Linked DNA regions of Homo sapiens: region 2 is linked to region 1. Evidence: promoter capture Hi-C in 16 types of primary human blood cells and fetal thymus (Javierre and others, 2016). All regions are on one chromosome and are shown on one strand. The core of a region is centred on a gene start or on the middle of the fragment in contact, and the rest is flanking DNA. Distances in the headings are between cores, read along the strand shown.

The links. The method cuts DNA at HindIII sites, captures the fragments that hold promoters and counts their contacts. A CHiCAGO score of 5 or more calls a contact.
Region 2: a fragment that was not itself captured here is called in contact with the fragment with the promoter of SNAI1 in region 1 in 2 of 17 cell types (monocytes and naive B cells); the score reaches 7.5 in monocytes.

The regions. Positions count from the first base shown.
Region 1 is chr20:49,980,040-49,986,222 of GRCh38, reverse strand. SNAI1 (snail family transcriptional repressor 1) reads right to left here and starts at 3,243. Exons shown (of 3, transcript NM_005985.4): 1 at 3,082-3,243; 2 at 1,872-2,399. The coding sequence starts at 3,163. RefSeq lists a silencer at 3,229-3,748 and an enhancer at 3,901-4,838. The HindIII fragment of the contact is 8,892 bases long and covers 1-6,156 here.
Region 2 is chr20:50,093,049-50,099,231 of GRCh38, reverse strand. It overlaps PEDS1-UBE2V1 (PEDS1-UBE2V1 readthrough), which reads left to right. Exons shown (of 8, transcript NM_199203.3): 6 at 2,412-2,560. UBE2V1 (ubiquitin conjugating enzyme E2 V1) reads left to right here. Exons shown (of 4, transcript NM_001032288.3): 2 at 2,412-2,560. Among named protein-coding and RNA genes, the nearest start is that of UBE2V1, 17 kb to the left of the region's middle. The HindIII fragment of the contact is 8,180 bases long and covers 1-6,183 here.

The DNA.
Region 1 (6,183 bases), core at 1,994-4,493:
CGCCACGCCTGAAGGGTTTGTTGATTGCATTCTAAGTCTTCATGTGAATGAGAAGGGTAAGTTCACCCTTGTGAACTAAGGGCTGACTCTGGAGATCTGGAAAAGGGGCTGGAGTCCATTTGTAAGACCAGAGTTAGGACAGCACCTCCCTTCCCTTCCCAGGGCTGTTGGTGAAGTCCTGAGCACTACCCTCCTGTACAGTAAGTGCCCAAAGTGTGATGAGACCTGAACCCAAACAAAAGGGGAAGGAGACATTCTAGGACATGATGGGCTGGGGGCGGGGGCTGTGTGCACACGCAGGAGGCACAGACCCCCACTCCTTGGATCCCTCGCCCCCCAGACGCCTTCATGGTACTCCTGGCAAGTGTGAAATCGGCACCAGGCCGGCGGGGACAAAGGGCGCCGAGGGGGGCACTGTACATGCGATATCCCCGGATTAAAGGGGCCTGCCATGCAGTGGGCCAGCAGCTGTGACTGGAACAGGTGCTGGGCACCGCTGCCCCATGCACCTGCTCCACCCCTCCCAGCCCCCACCCACTGGGCCCACCATTAAGGCACACAATGGGAGTCAATGAGGACCGCAATGATACATTTCAAGGGGATTTCTGTGTCTCAGCCATGCCTTTACATTAAAATAATGTCCAGATGGGAGGTGAGAGAGGCAGGCAGGACTGCAGCACCCTGAGGGGTTCAACTGTCCCAAAATAGAGCCCTGTGAGCTGGGCAGGCACCCAGGAGGCCAGGCAGTTGGACCTTTACATGTTAAAATCAGAGCAATTGGTGCACGAAGGAAGAGAAATGGGTAGCCTTAGTCGAATAAGATGCCAATAAAGCCCGCGAATTGCCAGTCCTCCCAGACACCTCACTAACCCTCACCGCTCAGAGGTCAGGCGCCAGGCCAGGAAATGGCAGAACCTGGCCAGCTTGAACCCTGTGGAATCTTCTCCCTCAACTGTCACTCTCCAAAGAGCAGCTCCAGGCACAGTGGCTGCCACCATTCAAGTTCTAAAAAGTTCTACCTTTTCTCCATGTCCAGAAAGTTTTTTACACATTTAGTAAATTTTCAAAAGACGTGATTGTGTTTTCTGCCCCAAAGATGCCGTTTCCTGGTCTGTGTGCTAGGATTCAGTGGGGGTGGGGAAGCCGACCTGAGAACCGTTCGGGTATAATAAATTACTATAAAGTGATTAGCCACCTTTACAGCCACTCTCTAAAACATATGCTATCATAGTTTTCCCCTAAGGCTCAGAGAGGTTAAGTTGCTTGCCCAAAGTCACACAGCAAGGAAGCAGAGCAAATGCCAAGGAACCATTTTTGTGAGAGTTTAGCAGGTACCGGCACTTTGCCAGGTGCTTCCCATATGCATTCCTGCATTTAGCCTGTATAGAAACCCCAAAAGCTGTTCTCATGCCCATCTGAAAGATAGAGAAAATGAGGCTCACAGAAGAGAAACATCAGCCTAAGTTTTGAGAAAGTTCTCAAAGAAGGATTCAGAGCCAGGCGGGGGGTCTGACAACATCCTGTCTGGCTAGGGAGGGGGCGGACCCGGGAGAGGGTGTGGCCGGGTGGGCCCCTTCACACCTGGCCCCCACAGCAAGGTGTTGGTTGCACCTTTCCCATATCCAGCTCCGACCCATTTGGCTGAGAAACAGGCTGCAGGGGATTGGGAAGGTGTCTGCTTTGCCCATCTGCTTAGCTGATGAAGAAAGTTTCTGCCAAACGTTTCCAGAGAGCCAGGCCCTGGAACTTGAGCTAGAAGTTAGAAGACTCGGGGCCTCAGTGTCCACAGCTTTGGGAATGAGAACAGCAAGCCCAGATTCACAAAAGCTGCCAGAGAGAGCAACGGTGGGGGCGCCTGGAGGGGCACGTACCAGTGTGGGTCCGGACATGGCCTTGTAGCAGCCAGGGCCTAGAGAAGGCCTTCCCGCAGGTTCCGCAGACGCAGGGCAGCGTGTGGCTTCGGATGTGCATCTTGAGGGCACCCAGGCTGAGGTATTCCTTGTTGCAGTATTTGCAGTTGAAGGCCTTTCGAGCCTGGAGATCCTTGGCCTCAGAGAGCTGGGCCAGCTGCTTGGGCACTTGGCCCAAGCCTGGGAAGGCAGCATAGGCCTCGGCCTCCAAGGAAGAGACTGAAGTAGAGGAGAAGGACGAAGGAGCCGGTGAGGGTGGGCTGGGGGGCTGGGAGCCTTTCCCACTGTCCTCATCTGACAGGGAGGTCAGCTCTGCCACCCTGGGACTCTCCTGGAGCCGAAGGGAGGCCCAGGCAATTGGCTGGGCTTGGGGCGCCAGGACAGAGTCCCAGATGAGCATTGGCAGCGAGGCGGTGGGGTTGAGGATCTCCGGAGGTGGGATGGCTGCCAGCAGGTGGGCCTGGTCGTAGGGCTGCTGGAAGGTAAACTCTGAGGGAGAAAAAGCAGAGTCAGGCGTTAATTAAATCATTCACTCAATCAACAAACATGAGCCCACCGCTGGCCAGGGGCTGGGTGGGGCCGATTCTCAATACATAATTAGATCAAAAAAATTATCCACAGGACAGACCAGGTTCCTGCCCTCCTCGCCCAGGTCACCCAATCTGAGTCTCTCACACGTAGGACCCCCAGTTGAAGGAGGTCATTTCCTGATCTCCCTCTCCTAAGTCCCCAGTCTCCAGCCTGAGGCCAGAACCCCATCATCCCAGCCCCGGAGCCACCACCCTGCCCCAATCCCCCTCCTCACACACATCTCGTCTCCCCACCCCTCCCCTCAACCCTCTGGACTCCGGACTCTCCCCAGCAGCGTCCAGAGGGCCCTCCTGACACAGGCCTCCTCTCCTTCCCCTCTTGCGGAGCTCCTCCGCCTCTCGCCGGCTACAAAGGCCCCCCAAGCTGAAGACCCCTGCCCTCTACACGGCACTCCCCCAACCACCCAGACAGATCCCCGGAACTGGGGACCCACTTGCCCGGTCTCCCGAGCCCGCAATGGTCCACAAAACATCCTGTGACTCGATCCTGGCTCAGGCAGGCCGCCTCCCTCAGGTGCCCCCCACGCAGCCTTCGCCTGTCTCCCCCAAACCTCCTGGAGCCCAGAACCCCTCCAACGCACCTGGATTAGAGTCCTGCAGCTCGCTGTAGTTAGGCTTCCGATTGGGGTCGGAGGGCTTCCTGACGAGGAAAGAGCGCGGCATAGTGGTCGAGGCACTGGGGTCGCCGATTCGCGCAGCAGTAGCGCAGAAGAACCACTCGCTAGGCCGTGCCGCGGCGCAATGAATGCAGCAGCGCCGCCAACTCCCTTAAGTACTCCGGGGGGGTGGTGGGGGGTGGGAGGGGCGGGGCCTTATCTGCCACGCCCCTTTGTCACCTCCGCGCCAATCGGAGGCTCGTCTCCGCCGAAGGCCACTCCCCGAGCAGGTGCGCCGGCTGCTGGCCGGGCTCGCGCCGCGTGGCGGTGAGAGCCCGGGCGGGGACTCCTCCGAGGCGGGGTTCGCTGGCGCAGCGCGGGTCGTCCCCGGTGCTGGGGCTGTCCGGGGCGGGACGTCGAGCGAAGCGAGGCCTCTGCGAGGTGGGACCCCGGCAGGACGCCGCGCGCCCACCGGCTCAGCGCCCGGTGGTCTGAGCGCTTCTGACGCCCCCTGGCGCTGCGCGCCGGCCGGGACACCTGACCTTCCGACGCCCGCCCCCGCCTCGGGCTTGGGAGGGGGCGGAAATTTCCTCCGCCCGGCTGGCGCCTGGAGAGCGTGGCATTGACGAGGGAAACGCACATCACTGGGGAGGAAGCGAGGAAAGGGACACCGCACGTGGCTCTCGGCGGCTTGAAATGCCACGGCCTTTTTGCAAAGCAGCCTGGCCCAGCTAGCCAAGAGCACCCGTTCCTTCCCTTATCCAGTGTTTACGGAGCGCCCAGCACGTGTGGGGCACTGTACCTGGGGCCAGGGCACAGCCCCGGACAGAACACTCAGAGCCTCTCCCGAAGGGTAGCTTCTGGTCCAGTGAGGGAGACAGACGAAGTAAACAGATAATTACAATGCAAAGGGAAGTGTGCTTTGGTGGGGGAGAGACGGGACGCGGCGACCGTTAAGAGGCGGGTCACCTGACAGGGGGTCGGGGTGACTTCCCAGAGGAAGTGAAGAATTATCAAGGGAAAAGGCCCGAGGGAAGAAGTGGCAACTGCTTCAGAGTAACTCCTAGAGAGCAGCTTCCAGGGATGGGGTGGGATGGGCATGCCCGGAGGGGTCAGATGTGCTGGGCCCCAGGGCCTCGTAGGAGTTTGGACTTTGCCTCAAGGGCACTGGGGAGCCACCGAAGGATTTTCAGCTGAGGAGGGACCTGGTTAGAGTTTCGTTGAAAAAGATCCCTGTAGGCTGGCGGGAGAAAGAAGGCATGGGCCGGGCGTGTCTCCTCACCCCGTGAAGATCCTCGATCCTGTGTCTAAAGGCTGTAACACGGCTCCATAGGGGCCCTGACTGAATGCATGTGGGGTGGGCCCAAGTGAGGGGCAGCTGCACCCCCACCCCAGCTTCCCTGGGAGGCGTACCAGGCCCGGGGGTGGCTCTGAAATAAACCTCACAGGTCTCACCGTTCTTGTTTCCACCTGTGAAGGAAGACTATAAAAACCTATAAGCACCCCACACCACCACCACCACCAACCTGAAGGGCAGAACTACTGTCTGTTTAGTCACTTGGTGCCGGGTGTGACAGCCGTGAACAAAATCGTCCTCCCCTGGTTCTAGCTGGAGAGCGGGCAGTAGGGTGGGGGACAGAGGCAGTAAGCAGTCATTAAGCGGAATACTCCCCGTCCCGTGTCAATTTAGCTCCAATCAGGATCCTTTGCTTGAAGCCAAAGTGAGGCCAGATCACCCCCTCCTCTGCTCAAACCCTCCCATGCGCCTGTCTCAGAGTAAAAGCCAAAGTCCTCTCCTCAGCCAACTCGGCCCCGCTGCTCTGACCCCAGCTGACATTGGCTTGAGCCTCTCTCCCTCCCCCATGCACAAGGATCCCACCCCCAGCCTTCCTTCTGTTCCTCCAACATCCCAGACCTTTCCCACCTTGGCACCTGCTGCTCTTCCTCCTCTCCCCTACGTCTCTTGCTCCTAGATCTTCACGCTGGCTTCCTTTCATTCTTTGTTTCAGCAGCAACTTCACTAACTGCTCAGCCTCGTTTAGTGAAGAGAGAAATGGCAAATTCAAGCCACAGTGAGCTGCCATTTCACGCCCATCAGAAGGACAACAAGGAAAAATTTGGTCACTATCAAGAGTTGATGAGGAGGTGAGAGCTGGCGAGAGGGTCGGTGGGCATAGTCACTTTGGAAAAGTTTGGCATCAGCTAGCAACAGGTGACTCCTCTCCCTGTCTGTCCTCAAGCCAACTGCATCCCAGGGGCTGCAGCTGACAAGTCTGTCCTCAAACCAACTGCATCCCAGGGGTTCTCAGCTCTGGCAGCACATTAGATCCCCACAGGGAAGGATTAAAACACCTAAGCCTCGGCCCACCCCACCCCCACCCACATCTTGATTTAATTAGTCTGGGTGGGGCCTCTGGCATCAGCATTTTAAAAAACTCCCCTGGGGATTATAATGAGCAACCAAGCAAAGTAAAGAACTGTTGTCCAGCCCAAACCCCGAAAAAACAAAAAAGGATATTCATTGTACCCTCGTTCCTAATAGCAAAAAAAGCAAAAACTAAAACAAAACTGGATACAACACAAATGTTTATAAACAGTAGACTGGATTAATGAACCCTGGTGCAATCCTGTAATAGAATACTATACAGCAATAAAAATGAACTACAACTCCATGCAGCAACAGGGATGAATCTCAAAAACACAATGTCGAGCAGAGGTCACAAACAAATGCATAGTTATTTGGATTTATACGAGGTTCTGAAGCAGGCAAATGAAACCCTATATTATTTAGGGATGTATGTGGGGGTTGTAGAATTAGAAAGAAAAGCAAGGAAGTGGTTTTTTGTTTTGTTTTTGAGACGGGGTCTTGCTCTGTCACCCAGGCTGGAGTGCAGTGGCACAATCACGGCTCACTGCCGCCTGGAACTCCTGAGCTCAGCCTGCCAAAGTGCTGGGATTACAGGGGTGAGCCACTATGCCGGCTGCAAGGAGATGTTTGATACAAAATTCTGAAGAGTGGCTGGTGAGGAGGGGAGGCAAGAACAGGCTGCACATGAAGCTTCTAGAATTTTGGTAATGATCTGTTTC
Region 2 (6,183 bases), core at 1,185-3,684, 110 kb before region 1:
GAGGGGAACACAGTTCAGCCCAGCCCATAGCACGATCTGTGAACAAGTACCTCAGTCATCAGCCTTCCTATCAATATGATTCTTTTGATGTTCATTTTTATTAGTGCAGGCTTGTAAATTAACCAGTAGTAATGTAGTGACTTTTCCCCCGCTAGCCTAATTAGGATTATTAAAGATTTAGATTGAACCCTTTCTGAACAATAGTTGTGTTGTCTGGCTTTTTGCCTATAATGTCACCACTATCTTTCAGTTTTATGTTTGCTACAGGAGACTTAATCCAGTATAGCTGAATAATCCAGTTGGCTGCTGTGCAGATGAAAATGCCAGTGTTTTCCAAACAAGCAGTTCAAGTATGCTTGCAGGTTTTGCTGTTTCCTTTCAAATACCATATGTAGTACTATTTAATATTTTTCTTGTAATCAACTGACTCTTTTGCTTACATTTATTTTAAAGGAAACTTTTACCATTATTATAAATGGGAAGTTAGTATATTACTTACCCTAAATAAGTTATTCTTAAACATAAATACGTGACTGTAAAACGAAGTGTTCAATCACATACCACCGAAAGTCCTCTAACATACCACTACCAACTCTGTCCTTCAGTTGCTTGGACCAAAAACCTGGGAGCTGTAGTTGACTCTTGTCTCTCACACCTCACAGGCAACCTGATAGCAAATCTCCACAGCTCAGACCTCTGAAATGCCTAGAATTACGCCACTCCTCACTACTTTCCTGCTATCACCCTGGTCCAAACGGGTATTATCTTTTGCTAGGATTATTGCAGTAGCCTCCTAGCTGCTTCTGCCCTTGCTCCCTTCACTCTCATCCTCACACAGCAGTCTGAGGGATCCTATTAAAAACAAGACAGATCATGTCACTCAGTAACAGTTGGCATCCTTAATCTCCTCTTGCTCTCTCATCTTCCTCACTTGGTTTGAGCTAAATTGGCCTCCTTGCTGTCCTTTGACACCCTAAGCAGCCTCTATTTTAGGGCCTTTGCACTTGTTTGCTCTGTCTCAAAGACTTTCTCCTCAGCTATCCATAAATCATGCCCTCTCACCTTCTTTAGGTCTTTAGTTATGACACCTGATTGCAATAACACTTTTCCTTTATCCCTCCATTTAAAAGTATAGCCCCTCCCGTATTACTCCCTCCTCCGGAACACCAGGATCTGTCATACTGTATAATTTACATATTCATTTTTGTCCATTATATGTCTTCTACTAGAATGTAAGCTGCAGGCATTTTTGTTTTATTCACTGCTTGTTCTTCAGTGCTTAGAAAAGTCCCCGATGTATACTAAGTACTCAAATATTTATTCCAATTGAATTAATGGCGTGTGTCCTACACTTTGGGAAATACATATACTGGCAACACCTCCCACAATCTGGGGTCCCTCCAGTGAGCCTCTCTTCACAGTCACATGGTTAGTCCTGTTTGTCTCTGAGAGTCTGGCCAATTGAGAGCTCAGCATTCAAGGCAGAGAACTTGAAACTTGACTGGATCCTGAGTTTTTTCCAGAGAAAATAGTGCATATGCCAGGGAAAATGGAGGAAGGAGAGACAGTCAGGATTGGTTGGGAGTGCAACCCTAGGAGAGATGATTTGTTCCCCAAGCACAGAAGGAAAGTCCATCTCTCTCTCCTCCCATAGCCCCCTCCCTTGTCTGGCCCCAGTACCTAGGTTCTGTTCTGGAAGACACCTAGAAATGGCTCAAGCCTCAGCCTGAACCCGGTACTGTGGCTTGAACCTGTGAGGTGTTTTCATGCGTTGCTTTCAAGAGCTACTTGCCAGGCTTTGGGATTTTTGGAAAACAATTGAGAACCAGCTATTCCCTTTTAGCTTTTTTGTAAGTTAAAAGAGAAACTATCACTTAAATAATTGAAAAACAATAGAATATTTTATCCTTGGTGCCTTCAGTTGACTCTTAGTTGATTAAGAGGATACCATTTTTATTTCCCATATCCATGGTGACTATTCCTCCTAAAGGTTGTTTGAGAGTCATGCCAACAAATAAGCGTAGTCTTAGCCTCTTGTCTTCCAAGGTACTTTTGTTAGCACCTGATATTGATGGTTTTCATCTCATACTAGTTGACCCCAATTCATAGACATTTAGACATGTAAGCCCCTTAGGAGGTTTGTCCAAGGGGTAGGGGTGGGGTATCTTTCTAAGTTTGGTTATCTAGCCCTAGTCACTTCACCTGTCAGAGAACCATGTGCCCCTTCCCTCTGGTTGTGCTGGTTGATACTGATAGCTTTATAAGTAGCAAGTTTGAGGTGTGATAACTTTCCGTGATTTTTTTGCATGTTAGCATCTTGATTCCCAGGGAGAGATAATGAGCAGCTAGCTCTAGGCTTACAAGTTCCCCTGGAGTTGCTGGTATCTTGAATTTCTTTCCATTTATTTTAGGAGTAAAAGTCCCTCGCAATTTCCGACTGTTGGAAGAACTCGAAGAAGGCCAGAAAGGAGTAGGAGATGGCACAGTTAGCTGGGGTCTAGAAGATGACGAAGACATGACACTTACAAGATGGACAGGGATGATAATTGGGCCTCCAAGAGTAAGCGTCGAGCTACGGCTATAAATGTCAATGTCTTAAATTCACTGTGCCTCCTTTTAAAAAATATTAGCCTTATCACGGAAAAAAAGCTCACCAATGGTATATTTTCTGAAATGTGGCTATTCTTTTTTGACCAGTTTCAGTTTATATATTTGAACCTCCTCTGATGCTGTTTAACCCCTCTAAATGGTAAGCAAAAACCTGTTTAGACTCATAGTGTGAATTTATATGACAATGTAGACAGTGAGGTGTGAAGTCATTGCACCATCAGATGTCGTTCAGAACAATCTCTGGGCTAACCAAATAACTAGGCCCTAGGTATAGCCAGCATTCCTGAAGCCAGTCTCCAAATTAACTCTGGAAAGCCTTCCCAGTTGTGGTTTTTCTTCACTGTCTCCCAGGTCTGCCGTGCACCTGTATCCTAGTTCCTTGGGCCATTCAGCAAAGGTCCCTGGCAAGCCTGTCAGCTCCTGGTCTATTCCAGGCACTACTAGACCCAGAGGCCTTTGCAAAGAAGACGAAGACAATGAGGATGGGGAAAAGTGGCCTCTTTCAGACCTTCCTGATTTGTGAGAGTTCCCAGTCTTCATAATGCCAGCCAACCGTTTTTTGAGGACACATAGTAAACCCTCAAGAAATGTCTCTTAACTCTCACAAGACCCCATTGTTAGGTGCAATTGCATTCCATTTCACAGATGAGGAGACAGACTCAGAGGAGTCAGATCTCTTGCCCAAAGTCACATAGCTGGTAACCCCCAAACCAGATCTGACTCCAGAGCCTGTGCTCTTAACCACTGTGCTGTGGTGTCTCCCTTTTGTTTACATTTTGAGTTTTCATCTGTTACCATTATAGAAGATACTAATCAAGTAGTAACTTGATGTAGGAGTCAAGAAATTGATTTCCATACTGTGACACACACTTCAGACAAGCAGTAAGGGCCTCTGCCTGAATGTAGCAAGACCTGTCCTGTGTCTGCTTGTGTTTAAGGATGATGACAACATTCATTCTTTTGATTGTGTGCAGGACTCTGCACTAGCACTGTGAGAGCAGAAAGACATGTAGGGCGTGGCCCGGGCTGGAACAGGGACAAGTGACATGTTCGTTAAGTGTTAGGACACTAATGCTCATTTCAGATGGTCATCAACACTCATGGTGAATGATTGGCTTTGCCATTTAATGTTGCTTCTTAAGTCATTTTGTGACCCTATAGTTTTGTGGAGTTTTAAAAATATATACATTTGATCTGTTTTTACTCATTTCTTTATCCTTTTTTTCCTGTGAAAACCAGAATTTTCTGCGTCTGCTAAATACCGGGGAAAACCCAATCTAGAAATCCTGTTTCTCCATGGAGATAATTTTCTTTGCTGTCTCTGAAGGTCCATCATATGCTGACATCTTCTTCACTGCATGTCTTCTCTTCCTAAGAATGATTTCGGTTTCTTGAGGATGAGAACTGTGCTTCCCTCCTTACTTCCCAGAATACCTAGAAATGACTCAGAATGGGGTACTCAGTAGATTTGTTAATCAACTTACTGATTTACAGGTTCTAAAATACTGAGAATTGAACCAATGTACAACATTGCGATACACTAAATACCACTGAATTGTACACTTTCAAAAAAACACACAAAACAATGCATCAGTAAATTCTGCTGAAAATATTCTGTCTGCCTAAAACAGCTTGGGCTACCCTGAATTTCAGTTTATCTCTTTCCAAAAGAGGCTTTGGAAGTTGTAATGCGTAGCTACGGTATGCCAGGAGTCCTCCATGTATTTGTTTTTGGTAACAGCTTTATTGGGATAGAATTCACCCTTTTAAATATACAGTTCGGTGGTCTTACATTCAGAGTTGTGCATCCGTCACTAATTTCAGAACGTTTTCATCACCTCAAAAAGGAACCCATACCCATCGGTAGGCACCCCCCATTCTCCCTCCCACATCCCCCATTTCCCATCTTTGACAATCATCAGTCTACTTTCTAGCTCAATGAATTTGCTTTTTCTGAACATCTATTATAAATGGAATTCTACAGTATGTGGCCTTTTGTGACTGGCTTCCTTTACTCAGCATAATTTTTTCAAGGTTCAAGCATATTGTAGCATCTATCAATACTTTTATTCTTCTTATGGCTGAATAATATTCCATTGTACAGATACGCCATATTTTGTTTTTCCATTTGTTGATGAACATTTGGGTTGTTTCTACCTTTTGGCTATTATAAATAATGCTTCTAGGAACATTTATATACAGGTTTGTATGTGGACATATATTTTCTTTTTATTTTTTTATCTACACCTGCTGGAATAGATGGACATAGTTGTTTTTAGCTACCTAATTTTTCCTCCTTTGAAGATGGACATATATTATATATAATTATATATTATATAATGCATTATATATTATATAATGCATTATATATTATATAATGCATTATATATTATATAATGCATATGTTATATATTATATATACTGTATATTTATATAACATATATGATATGTAATATATATTACATATAATTATATATAAGATATATAATTATAATATATAATATATTTTTATTTAAATAAAAGCAAATCCTCCAAGCCTATATATATTATATATATAACATACATAATATATTTTATATATATATATTTTATTATTATTATTATTATTATTTTTTTTTTTTTTTTTTTTTTTTTGAGTTGGAGTCTCGCTCTGTCTCCCAGGCTGGAGTGCAGTGGCGCAATCTCGGCTCACTGCAACCTCCACCTCCCGGATTCAAGCAATTCTCTGCCTCAGCCTCCCGAGTAGCTGGGATTACAGGTACCCGCCACCACGCCCAGCTAATTTTGTATTTTTAGTAGAGACGGGGTTTCACCATCTTAGCCAGGCTGGTCTTGAACTCCTGACCTCATGATCTACCCACCTCGGCCTCCCAAAGTGCTGGAATTACAGGTGTGAGCCATCGCGCCCTGCCGGAGATACATTTTTGAATTCCCCTGGGTGTATACCTAGGAGTGGAATTGCTGGATCATATGGTAACTGTGTTTAACATTTGGAGGAAATGCCAAACTGTTTCCCAAAGTGGCTGCACCATTTTACATTCCTACTAGCAATGCCCGAAAGTTCCCATTTCTCCACATTCTCACCAACACTTGTTATTGTCTTTTCACCCTTGTAGTTTTTATTATCCTGGTTCCCCAAGGTCAGAAACTAAGTCATAAAAGGAACTATCTGTGTGTAGATGCTTCCTGTGACCAATCTTTCATGATTAGCACATGAGCTATTTGCTGTGTAACTCGAATATCCACATAATTATTAAAGCATCTAAATAGAGCACTTGAGTAACTCATCTCCCTATTAGGTTTTTGTTATTGTTTTACTCAAAAGAACATTTTCCATCAAAATTTCAAAGGTCTATACCATGTGATCCAGGAATTCTTCTAGGAATTTACTTTCCAATTTCTCTTGAATGTATTGCCCAAAGGCAGTGTACAAAATTATTTCATGCAGCATTGTCAGTAGTAGCAAAATATTGGAAACAACATCATTGTCTTTGAGTATACCATATTATGTCCTGTTTAGCTGTTGAACAATGAGACAGATTTATGTGTGCTGAAATGGAATGATCTCCATGA